Regions from separate parts of the Homo sapiens genome. Here regions 1 and 3 are each linked to region 2. The links are contacts of gene promoters, found by promoter capture Hi-C in blood cells and fetal thymus (Javierre and others, 2016). All regions are on one chromosome and are shown on one strand. The core of a region is centred on a gene start or on the middle of the fragment in contact, and the rest is flanking DNA. Distances in the headings are between cores, read along the strand shown.

Evidence for each region. The method cuts DNA at HindIII sites, captures the fragments that hold promoters and counts their contacts. A CHiCAGO score of 5 or more calls a contact.
Region 1: a contact is called between the fragment with the promoter of LSM14B here and the fragment with the promoter of TCFL5 in region 2, in 1 of 17 cell types (neutrophils). The highest score is 8.5, in neutrophils.
Region 3: a contact is called between the fragment with the promoter of TAF4 here and the fragment with the promoter of TCFL5 in region 2, in 1 of 17 cell types (neutrophils). The highest score is 11.1, in neutrophils.

What each region holds. Positions count from the first base shown.
Region 1 is chr20:62,120,281-62,123,857 of GRCh38, forward strand. It overlaps LSM14B (LSM family member 14B), which reads left to right and starts at 2,195. Exons shown (of 9, transcript NM_144703.3): 1 at 2,195-2,513. The coding sequence starts at 2,387. It overlaps LOC105372706 (a long non-coding RNA gene), which reads right to left and starts at 3,404. Exons shown (of 3, transcript XR_936963.2): 1 at 3,176-3,404. RefSeq lists silencers at 1,254-2,343, 2,504-3,043 and enhancers at 1,707-2,394, 2,395-3,083, 3,084-3,577. The HindIII fragment of the contact is 16,298 bases long and covers 1-3,577 here.
Region 2 is chr20:62,859,951-62,864,038 of GRCh38, forward strand. It overlaps TCFL5 (transcription factor like 5), which reads right to left and starts at 1,872. Exons shown (of 6, transcript NM_006602.4): 1 at 1,074-1,872; 2 at 175-358. The coding sequence starts at 1,720. It overlaps LOC105372717 (a long non-coding RNA gene), which reads left to right and starts at 1,485. Exons shown (of 4, transcript XR_936989.4): 1 at 1,485-1,591. RefSeq lists silencers at 1,291-1,440, 1,941-2,130, 2,181-2,280 and an enhancer at 1,665-2,319. The HindIII fragment of the contact is 6,144 bases long and covers 151-4,088 here.
Region 3 is chr20:62,063,366-62,067,211 of GRCh38, forward strand. TAF4 (TATA-box binding protein associated factor 4) reads right to left here and starts at 2,516. Exons shown (of 15, transcript NM_003185.4): 1 at 1,086-2,516. The coding sequence starts at 2,445. It overlaps MIR3195 (microRNA 3195), which reads left to right and starts at 1,437; the gene lies at 1,437-1,520. It overlaps LOC105372705 (a long non-coding RNA gene), which reads left to right and starts at 3,089. Exons shown (of 2, transcript XR_936960.3): 1 at 3,089-3,326; 2 at 3,577-3,846. RefSeq lists enhancers at 206-719, 720-1,234, 1,235-1,748, 1,749-2,263, 3,292-3,805 and silencers at 2,197-2,286, 2,547-2,656, 2,917-3,296. The HindIII fragment of the contact is 9,555 bases long and covers 1-3,846 here.

The DNA of each region.
Region 1 (3,577 bases), core at 945-3,444, 740 kb before region 2:
CCTCCCTGAGCTGGGCTGACTCCATGGCTTTGCTGTCTCTGTTCTCTTCCTGCATATGATGTTCCAGGAGCCAAGAAGCAATTCTAGAATGTACAGGTCAATCTTGGCAGATGAAACTGAATTTTCCCTCTTCTCTTCTGCTTCCTGTGTCCCCTTCCTTAAACTCATCACTGTTCTCTTACTGGCCATTGCCGGGCTCTGGTGGGAGCAGGTTGGCTTCACCTTTGTGAAGAGACAAGAGACAGTGTGATGCGGCCCCAAGCCTGTGGAGGATGCCACCAGGCCAGACTGCAACTTCTCTGCGTGACTCCCCCGTGCTGGGCCTCTGTTTCCCCTTCTGTCAAATGGGGAGTCACAGCGTCTACCCTGCAGGGCAGGTAAGATCTTCTTATTATAGTCAGAAACACATTCTAGGTCCTTACCAAGTCCACACTTACACAAACAGGTGAATTAAATATTTCACAAAATAATACTTACTTTCACCATGCGAGATACTATTATTTTCTTTTTTTCCTTTAGAAATAGGGTCTTGCTGCCACCCCTGCGTGCAGTAGTCCAATCACAGCTCATTGCAGCCTCCAACTCCTGGGCTCAAGTGATCCTCCCGCCTCTGCCTCCACCTCCCCAGGAGCTGGAACTACAAGTATGTGCCCCCACACTCGCCCAATTTTTTTTAAAGTTTTTTTTTTTTTTGTAGAGATGGGGTCTCCATATGTCGCCCAGGCTGATCTCAAACTCCTGGCCTCCAGTGATCTTCCCGCTTCGGCCTCCCAGAGTGCTGAGATTACAGGCATGAGCCACCCACCACGCCATCTGATATCTTCTAGCTTATTCTATTTCATTTTTATTATTATTTTTCTTGAGACGGGGTCTAGCTCTGTCGCCCAGGCTGGAATGCAGTGGTGAGATCTCTGCTGACTGCAATCTTCACGTCTCAGGCTCAAGCGATTCTCCTGCCTCAGACTCCCGAGTAGCTGGGGATTACACGTGTCTGTCACCACGCCCGGCTAGTTTTTTTGTATTTTTAGAGTAGAGACAGGGTTTCACCATTTTGCCCAGGCTGGTCTTGAACTCCTCACCTCAAGTGATCCGCCCGCCTCCGCCTCCCAAAGTGTTGGGATTACAGGCGTGAGCCACCGCGCCCAGCCTATTGCATTTTTATAGTCACCACCCACTACTTTTTTTTTCCAGGACCCAATATTGGTCCGTGATCTGATGATGTTCACGGTCAAGACGGAAGCAAAAAAAGCACACACCGCGCGCCCTCGGTCACTAATCACGCGGAGTATACGCGAGGAGGGCCCGCAGCTAAGCGACGGCGGGCGGCCGAGCTTCCTCCACGGCCGGGGAGGTGGGCAAGGCCTCCGGGCCGCAGCCCCGGGTACGAGCGGAGGCTCCGAGGCCCCCGGTAGCCAGTCAGAATTTATTTTAAGGGAAATGGAAAGCTGCGGCAGGCTTTGGGAGGAGGGGCAGGATTAAAAGAGAAAGTGTGCTCAGCATGTTATATTTAGAGGCTGCCACGCCGGAAGCGCCGCCTTCCCGGGAGCTGCCGCCGCGCCCGCCCCCCGCCGGCACCTGGGCACTGGGGCGGGAGTCCCGGGGCTGCCCGGGAACACCCGGCGCCCAGGGCCTCCGCCACTCCCCGGTCCCCCATGAGGGTGAGGGCTATAGGCGCATCTGGCCCAAGATAGGGGAGTCGTCCGGACCCCACTTCTGTAGGAGGGGAAACTGAGGCCAAGGGGGCAAAGCCCCCGTGTTCGCGGCGCCCAGGGTCCGGGGCGGCGCCGGCACGCGCGCGGGCGGGGCCTGGCGCTCCTCCCCGGTCCCGCCCACTGAGCGTGCAAACCGCAGCCGCCCGCCCACGCGCACGCGCGCTCCTCCCGGGCCGCTTCCCACCCCTCCCCCCGCCCGCTCAGTCTCGTGCTCCCAGCTCCGCGAGGGGCCCGCCGGGAGCCGGCCGAGGGTGGGGCGGATCGCCGGGGAGACCCGCCCCCGGCCAGCGGCGCCTTGCTGCGCAGGAACGACGCGAGGGCCCGCCCCCCAGCTGGCGGCCCGGCCATATTTAAAGGACGGCGGGCGCGGCGAGCCAATGGGCGGCGAGCGTGAAGGGGCGGTGCGTGGCGGTGCGTGGCGGCGCGAGGCCCCGGATGTGGCTGCGGCGGCCCCTCCTCCCCCGCGCTCCTCTCAGAGCCCCAGTCGCGCGCCCCTTCTTGGTTCGCTCGGTGCCCGCGCAGGCCCCTCGGGCGGTGGCGAGGAGGCGCCCAGGCGGAGGCGGCGGCGGGCGGAGGAGCGCAGGAGCGGGCGGCCAGGCCACCGCGCGGCGGCGGAGCGGGCCGCGGCCCGGCGCTCCTTCCCCACCGCGGCCCGACGCACCCCGGCCGCCGCCATGAGCGGCTCCTCAGGCACCCCGTATCTGGGCAGCAAGATCAGCCTCATCTCCAAGGCGCAGATCCGCTACGAGGGCATTCTCTACACCATCGACACCGACAACTCCACCGTGGCGCTCGCCAAAGGTAGCGGCCGCCGCCCGCCCGAGCCCGCTGACCCCCGTCCGCCAACAGCCCCGGCCTGCGGTGCCCTCCCCGCCCCGGGGCGCCCCGGAGCCTGGCGCCCAGACCCCGCCCAGAACCCACCCAGGGCACACCCGGCCCGAGATCCCCTGCCCGCGCCTTCACCCCGGACGCCCCCGAGGCGCCCCCTTCCCGCGCGCCACCCTCCCCCAGCGTAGCCGGCCGCACAATGGTCTCCCTGGGCTCCCAGGGCGGCGGGATTGTGCGCGGGCGCCCGGCGGTGTTTGGTGAGGGGCGGGCCCGGCCCCCGCGGTGCCGCCCCCTCGGCCGCCCAGCCCACCTCTGCAGGTGCCAGCTCCGAGGAGCAGGGCGGCTCCCGTCAGCGGGCCTCCTCCCCGCCAGCCTGGGGGGATCCCTGCGGGGGAGCCTCGAGGTCGGGTGGCGGGGCCAGTGTCCCGGCGTCTCCCGAAGGCTGGGGGTGGGGTCACAACACGCGAATCCTGCAAGCCTTTCTGGAACTTATTAGACAGCTGGGGCCTTGATCCTGAACAAATACCGCGTCCTAATGCGGCCTCCTGCCAAGGCAGAAGCATCCGTTGGCAGCCAGATGCCCCGGTTTAAACGGTTCTCCTGCTCTATCCTGACCTTCCCACTGTGGGGCTTACCTTTTGGTGACAGCCGCCTGTGGGTGCTCGTAACCGGCTGTGGCCGCTGGAGGACTTACAGGAGGGGGGCTCTTTAGAGTCAGAATCTCTGAGGTTGTTGAGGCAGCGGGTGGTCCAGAGTTTCTTTGTCTTCATCACCCAGAGAAGACGGGGAGTGCACTTCCCCTGCCTCTCAGAGAAAAGTGCCCGTGGAGCCACGTCTGCCTAAGCCCGTGTGTGTGCTGGATCTGGCGCTAGGCTCCCAGGGGTTCTTGAAGTGTCTAGACGCGTCTGAAACGCTGCTTAGGTCACAGGGAACTTCATGTGTAGAAGAACGCACTCATTCCAAACAGGGAGTGTCTCCTTTTGAAGCCCGTCTCCTGCGTGGCTTCAGGAGCTTGTTGAGTATGCCAGGGCTATGCA
Region 2 (4,088 bases), core at 622-3,121:
CACCCACCTCGGCCTCCCAAAGTGCTGGGATTACAGGTGTCGGCCTTGGCGCCCGGCTTAAAAGGTTATTAAGCTCACTGAAGGGAAAAAAAAGTACTTGGGACCTAACCAAAATAAGTTAAAATTTACCCATTTAATACAAAAGAGCAAAGCTTCACAAATCATGTTCCCTACCTGTGTCTGTGAAAGATTAGAATTTCCACTAGTAGAGCAAGCATTTGTAGTAAACAGTGGGTATGTAAATTGCAAAGCAGTAGTTGTAGCCGCAGTTTTATTTTTCACTAATGCTGTACATTTGTTTTGTTGCTGAAGAGGAACATTCATTAGTTCAGATGGATGTCGAATGAGAGTTACCAAACTGCCAAGACAAAAGAAAGCCCAGAAGTGTCAGCAATACGTGGCAGACAAGCATCCACCATCCCACTCCCATGGCTCTGGCTAGTTTTTCCAGACAGCAACCCAACTCTCATCCTGGAAATCTCTACACAACAATTAGCAACTATCGCTGCTGTGGAAGTCCTCCTCTTCCTATGGAGGAAAAGCAAAACTGCGCCACCTCCCTGCTCTCATCACATCCTGACACCAATCTCACTTTTGCCATCCTCCAGTGTGACCACGATGGGCAACTACAGGCTGGGATGAGCAGAAAACTGCGGACGCAGCCCCTTCCACAGCCATCCCTGAGGGTCGCCAAGGGGGCGGCTGCAGGCTGGAGCCTCATTTTAGAGCTCAAAGCCTGCAAACCCCCGTCGGGCCTTCCTAGGCTTCCCTGACATCCAAGAGTGCCACCCGGAGCACATGGTTCCCAGGAATTCTGCGCGCTCGGCCCCACTCCAGGCGGGGCCACTGAGGGAGGGGGTGTTTAGTTTCTGGAAGTACCTGCTCCCCGGGGCCCGCACAGCGCACACAGCCTTTCGGGGCGGCCCCAGACCCGGTGAGGTCCGCGCCCTGTGCCGCCGGGAGGGCAGGCTGGGGGCGTGCACAGCGAGGGCCCCCTTTGCCTCCGCCCCGGCCCCGGCCCCGGCCTCGGCCTCCACCCGGGCCCCGCCAGCCCCCGGCCGCCGGGCACGCACTTGTTGAGCGCCCCGCCCGGCTCGGGGGGCTCGGGGCCGCGCGGCGCGGGCGGCGGCTCGGCGGGGATGCTGTTGAAGCGGTCCTCCAGGCGGACGCGCACGGCCGGCTTGGCCCGGGCCTCGGGCGCGCCGTCGGGTCCAGCCGCAGCCGCAGCCGCGCCCGCGCCCTCCTTGGCGGCGCCGTCGGCCCGGGCCCTCGCTCCGTCCCCGCCGCCCGACGTCTTCTCCGCCGCGCCCGCCTCGCTTAGCAGCATCATGCGCAGCTCCTGGAAGTCGATGTGGCCCAGGCAGGGCGCGTCGGCCGCCAGCGCGGACGGGCACAGCACGGGGTACACGGGCGCCGCGCCCCCCTGACCGCCCGCCGCGAAGCCGCCCGCGCCTGCGCCCGGGCCCGCCGCCGCCAGCAGCGCCGAGTTGAGGCGCGTCTCGAGCTCGCCGTCAGCCGCCGCCTCCATGTGCGAGCAGAGGATGTGCTGCAGCTGCGTGTACTCCACCTCCGTCATCTCCACCAGGCTCAGGTCGGTGGTCGTGAAGCTCAGCCCCGGCTCGCCCAGCGCCGCGTCCCCGCCGCCCGCGCCCTCGACGGCCGCCTCGCCGCCTGCCGCGCCTGCCTCCGGCGGCGGCTCCCGCGGTCCGGGGCCCGACATGGCGGCGCGGCGCGGCCCAACGGCGGCGAGGGCGACGCGGGCGGCGGGCGGCGGGAGGCGGGAGGCGGGAGGCGGGAGGCGACCCCCGGCCCGAGCACTACTCTGCGCCGGCCACAGCCGGCGCGCCGTTGGGGGAGGGAAAACCGCTGAGTGCCGCGCACAGCGCCTGCGCCGCCCCGCCCCGCAACGGCAACCCCACCCCTGCGCCAGCCCCGCCCCCTCCGTTACCCGCCGCCGCCGGCCCCGCCCCCGCCCAACCGCCCGCACGCCCGGCCCCGCCCCACGTCGGCGGATGCTTGCGCGGAGGGCCCGCCCCCACGGCCCAGCCACGCCCCCACAGCTAGGCCACGCCCCCAGCTCAGGCCACGCCCGGTTCCCAGCCACGCCCCTGCTGCCCGGCCACTCCCCGCTGAGGCCCGGCGAGGGCGGCTGCGCTGGAATCAGCGTGATACCTACGCGGTGACACCCTGGGGAGAAGCCACGTCCGTGCGTGCACGTGCGCCCCATTACAGCGGCAGGAATGAAGACGTTGTCAAAACAGCTCCCTGGACCCACAGTCCACAGTGCCCAGGCCATCCGCTTCATCCGCGTAAAATGCGCAGCGCATGGCCGGGTTCTGTGGCTCATGCCTGTAATCCCAGTACTTTGGGAGGCCGAGGCAGGTGGATCAGGAGGTCAGGAGATCGAGACCAGCCTGGCCAACATGGTGAAACCCCGTCTCTACTAAAAATACAAAAATTAGCTGGACGTGGTAGTGCGTGCCTGTAATCCCAGCTACTCGGGAGGCTGAGGCAGGAGAATCGCTTGAACCCGGGAGGCGGAGGTTGCAGTGAGTCGAGATCTTGCCACTGCACTCCAGCCTGGGCAACAGAGCCAGACTTCATCTCAAAAAAAAAAAAAAAATGCACAGCGCGACGGTGGTGGTACATTCCCAGCGCTGGGCCCGCCTCCACCGCTGCATTCACCACCGGTCTCCTGTAGCAGTCAGCACACTGCCCCTCCCCCGCCTGCAGCCACTAATCTTCTGTGTCCAGGAGTTTGCCTAGGCTGGGCCTTCCCTGTTAAGGGAACTATGCAATATGTGGTCTTTAAGAGACTTATTTTTGCAATCTTGAAATAATTCCTGTACTTAACCTCTCACCCACATTCCCATCTCACTCAGTGGTTGTCTGTTCTCTGTCTAGGCATTAGGACACTTAAAGGCCTGTGACTTGCACATCGTCTTCTAAGCCGGGTCTGAATCTTTCGCTCATTTCATCACAGTTTAGACACAGACCAATATATTACAATGATTCAACGATGGGCTATGAAAGCTCAGCCATGCAAATCTAAACTCACACATGTATACATGAAAATAATATATCAGTTTTGGGCAAAACATCAGGTTTCAGAAAACACTACCAAGGAGGAAAGCAAGGACTTAAAACTCTCAAGGACATGGCAACAGAAGTCGTCTAACGTAAAACAGAGAGGGAAGGCTAAGAGAGTGAGCAGAGCATCAGTGAGCTGTGGGGCCGCTTCAAGCAGTGTGATTTGAAGTCCCCTGGGGGTGGAAGGATGGGGAGAAAGACATTTTAAGAAGTAATGATTGCCAGGTGAGGTGGCTCACGCCTGTAATCCCAGCACTTTGGGAGGCCGAGGCGGGCAGATCCCTTGAGGTCAGGAGTTCGAGATCAGCTTGGCCAACATGATGAAATCTCGTGTCTACTAAAAATATAAAAAATTAGCCAGGTGTGGTGGCATGTGCCTGTAATCCCAGCTACTCAGGAAGCTGAGGCAGAAGAATCGCTGGAACCCGGGAGGTGGAGGTTTCAGTGAGTAGAGATTGCACCACTGCACTCCAGCCTGGGAGACAGAGCAAGACGCTGTCTCAAAAAACAAAAACAAAACAACAAAAAAAAATAATGATTGAAAAGTTTTTTTAAAACTACAAACCTACAGACCCAAGAAGTTTAACATACCTCAAACTCAAGAAACATGAAGGAAACTACACCAAGATGGAAAGCAAATTGCTTTATTTATTTATTTTTTTATTTTTTGAGATGGAGTCTTGCTCTGTCTCCCAGGCTGGAGTGCAATGGCACGATCTTGACTCAGCACAACCTCTGCCTCCTGGATTCAAGTGATTCTCCTGCCTCAGCCTCCTGAATAGCTGGGATTATAGGCATGTGCCACCATGCCTGGCCAATTTTTTGTATTTTTAGTAGAGACGGGATTTTGCCATGTTGGTCAGGCTGGTCTTGAACTCCTGACTTCAGGTGATCTGCCCACCTTGGTCTCCCGAATGCTGGGATTACAGGCATAAGCCACCGTGCCTGGCCTCAAATTGCTTTAAATCAGTGAAAAATCTTAAAAGCAGCTGTACACA
Region 3 (3,846 bases), core at 1,266-3,765, 800 kb before region 2:
CCACCGCGCTGCTACAACTGCACGGCACGCGTCACCACAGGCCGGGGAGGAGCTCCCCTGCCCAGCACCCACCACGGCGGCTGGGGAGGGACGGGGAGCCCCAGACAAAAGCAGCAATGCTGGCCAGGCAATCTTTCCTGTCAAACTTGAGGGGCCCTGAGGAGTCGCAGAGACAGCAGACTAGACAGGAGCGTGAGAACTGCCAGGCGGAAGTGGCGTCGGAGCCCCAGGCATCCGCAGCATAGCCAGTATCGCCCCGAGACCCCTGCACGGAGCGAGAACATCTGCTGCCACCGCCCTCCCACTGCCCTCCCGAGGGGGCAGCAACCAGAGTAGCTAGGCGCTCCTTCCTTTAGGCACCAACGCAGCTCTGGAAGAGACAGTGACACACACGGTGCTGAAACCCTACTCCACAGCGTGGCTCTCAGCAAGGCTGCGCGCCGGGAGGACTCTCGCAGGATGCGCCTGACATCTCTCCCTGCCTGGTGGCAGCAGAGGAGCCCAAGCCTTCCATCCAGAGTTCCCGAGCCTCAAGGAGGGGGCGTCGCGCCCCCGTCCTCGCCTGGAGACTGAAGAGGCTCGAGCCCAGGGTCACCAAGGGGCAGAAAGGCTAAGTGGGGACACAGGCCACACGCCTAACTGCAGAACTGAGCAGGGGACAGCTGCTGCCACTCACAGCCCCAGGTACTGCCCTCAGCTCTGCAGACCCCATCGCCTGGCCCAGGGAGCCCCTGCGCTGAGCCTACCAACCCGGGCAGGGACGCATAGGGCGGGAGCAGGTAAGGACCACTCCACTAAGAGTCCTGGCTGAGCCACTCCGAAACAGACCAGCCCCAGGCACAGGCAGCCAGCGCGGACGTCAGGGACAGCGACAGGGACGCAGGCTATGCCGACTCCCTCTGGCTCACTCGCAGACAGCCACCCGGGCTGGCCCCGCACCTGGGTAGAGACTGCCCCTCGGCCTGCTCCAGCCACGGGCCTACGGGACAGATGACCTTAGCATTCCACCAGCGGAGAACTTCCTGGAACTGGCAGCTGGCGCTGCTGGGAGCCGCCCTTCCCTCCCGCCCCGTGCGGCCACTCACCTGGGGGCAGCTGGAAGTTCTGGATGTTGGTCGGGTTCTGAGGCGGCTGCGGCAAGCGGGGGGCCAGCACGGTGGGCGTCAGGGTGGCCCGAATCCCGCTGGTGGTGGCCGTGGGCGTCCGGGACAGGCTCTGGGTCACTGCGCCGGCCGCGCCTTTGGGCAGCCCGGTGGGGGTCCCGGGGGCGGGCGGCGGGACGGCGGCCGGGCTGGGCAGCGCCCCTTGCATAGTTGGCCCGATGACCATGCTGGCCGCCGTGCTGGCCGGGCCGCTGGCCGCCAGGGTCTGCGCCGCCGGGGGCGCCGCCTGCACCACCCTCTTGGGCGACTCGGCCTTGACCCCCGGCGCCGGCGCCGCAGCCGCCGCGCCGGGCCCGGGTTGGCCGCTGACCCCCGCGGGGCCCCCGGCGGCCGGGGCGGGGGCGGGGGCTGCCCCGGCGCTGCCCCCGTTCTGGGCGGCGGCGGGGGGCGGCACGGCGGGCGCGGCGGTCGGGGGTCCGGCGGGGTGGCCGGGCGGCCGGGCCAGAGTGGCGGGCGCGGGGGGTGGCGGGGGCGGGGCGGCGGCGGGGGCGGCGGGCGCGGGGGCGGCGGGGGGCGAGGGCGCGGCGGGCGCGGGGGGCGCGGCGGCGCCCACGAAGGGGGGCGTCTGGATGACAGTGCCGGGGGCGGCGGGCTTGGGCAGCGGCAGCAGCGCGGCGGGCCCGTTGTTGACCAGGCTGACAGCAGGTGCGGCGGCGTGGTGCGAGTTCAGCAGCGCGGCGCTCCCATTCAAAGTTTGCGCGGCGCCGGGGCCGGCGGGCTTGCCAGGGCCAGGGCCGGGGCCGGGGCCGGGGCCGGGCCCGGGGCCGGGGCCGGCGCGGGCGGCCAGCGCGGCGGGGCCGGCGGGCTTGGCGGGGCCGGCGGGGGCGGGCTCGGGCCCCGCGGCGACGGCGGCGGCGGCGGGCACCGGGGCGCAGGACCCCGCGCTGCCCTCGGGCGGCGGCCTCAGCTTCGCGGCGGGCGGCGCGGGCCCTGCGGGGACAAGGGGGCGGCGCGGTGAGGGGGGGCCCGGGCGCTGCGGCCCCCCGCCCCCCGGCCGCGCTCTACCTGCGGGGGGCGGCTCCGGCGCCGCTCCGGGCGCGCCCTCGGCGGGGGCGGCCGGCCCTGCGCCCGCGGCTCCGGCCGGGCTGCCGCTCACAACATGGTTCCCGAGCGCGCCGGCGGCCGCGGCCCGCACCTCGGGCGTGCGCGGCGCGAGGTGGTGGTGGTGGGCCGCGCTGGCCGCCAGCTGCGACTCCAGCGAGCCCACCAGGTCGCTCACCACTTTCTCGTCCACCTCGCTGTTGAAGAAGACCTCGTCCAGCAGATCCGAGCCCGCCGCCATCTTTTTTCCTCGGCCGCCGCCGCCGCCGCCGCTCGGGCCGAGCGCGCCTGGGCGAGGAGGAGGTTCCGACTGGGGCGGGCGCTGGGCGGGCGGGGGGCGGCGCGCGGCCGGCGGGGGGCGGGGGCGCGCGGCCGGGGGGCGGGGGAGCGGGGGTGGCGGCCCTGCGCAGGCGCGGAGACCGCGGGCGCCCGGCGATTGGCTGCGGCGCGCGCTTAAAAGGCGCGGCCAATGGCTGCGAGCGCTAGAGGCCGGGGCGCGGGCGGTCGGCCGGGGTGCGGCAGCAGCGGCGGGAAGCGCGGGGGCTGGAGCTCAGGGGCGCGGGCGCCGGGGCGGTGGCGGACGGGGAGGGGGCCGCCGGGCGGGGCGCGGGATGCGGGAACGGTGCGCTGGGCCGGGCCGAGGCGGGCGCGGGGCGGCGACGGGGCCTCGCTCTTTGTCTCGGCTCGCTCCAAAATGGCTGCGGCGGCGCTGACGGGAGCGCCGGGCGGGCGCCGTGCGCGGTGGCAGCGGCGGCGCAGGGCCCGTCCGAGGCCCGGGGAACAGCGCGCGGGGATGCCGGGGCGCCGCCGGGCGGCGCGCAGGCCCTGGAGTGGATGGGCCTGGGAGGCGGGCGGGAACGGGGAGGGGACTGTCGCAGCGCGCCCTGGGGACGGGGACCGGCGCCCGGCCCCTCCAAGCCGCCGCGGGGAAGCTGGGTCCGCCTCTGGCTCAGCCGGTCCCGGGCGGTGGGGAGGGGTCCTGCGCGCACGGCTCTTCTCGCCCTCCAATCGTGACCACCCCTGGCCCTTCCCTCCATTTTTAATCAATAAACCCAGCCGCCCCGGGCTGACTGTCCCCGCACCCAGCTGCCTTGGAGACAGGAGTGTCGTATAAGCCCGTAGGTAAGAGCACGGTGCTTGCCAGGCGCCAAACGAAGTTCCCGAGCCTGAAGCCGGCACGTCTGGAAGTAGCTTTTTTTACCTTCTGCTGGGGGAGGGGAGTAAGTTACCTAAAGTGTTCCCAAGCACCTTCTCTCTAGAAATACTTCAGTAAAAGTTCCAGTCCCCTCTTTCTGCGTGTTTTATTTTCCAACCAAAAGATGGTGTTATTGGACATTTCTAGTGGTTTTCCTTTCTCTCATTTCTTCCTAAGAGCCCAGAATAGGTTTCAGAGAGACGCTTCCTTGCCTCGGACCTCACTGGGGCCAAGAGGCCACAGGGTCAGTCTTCGCAGCTGAAGACAGCGCCGCAATAAGCAGAGACCTCGGGACGATGAATGACGTTGCTGACAAAGAAAATGATTTTTTTAATTGCTTTAACAAAGGAGACTGCTAGTCTCGAAAGCAGACCCGAACTGGACCCTTGTGCCTGTTCGAACTGTAGCCTTGCAAAGGAATGGACTTACTGATAACTGGAATACGGG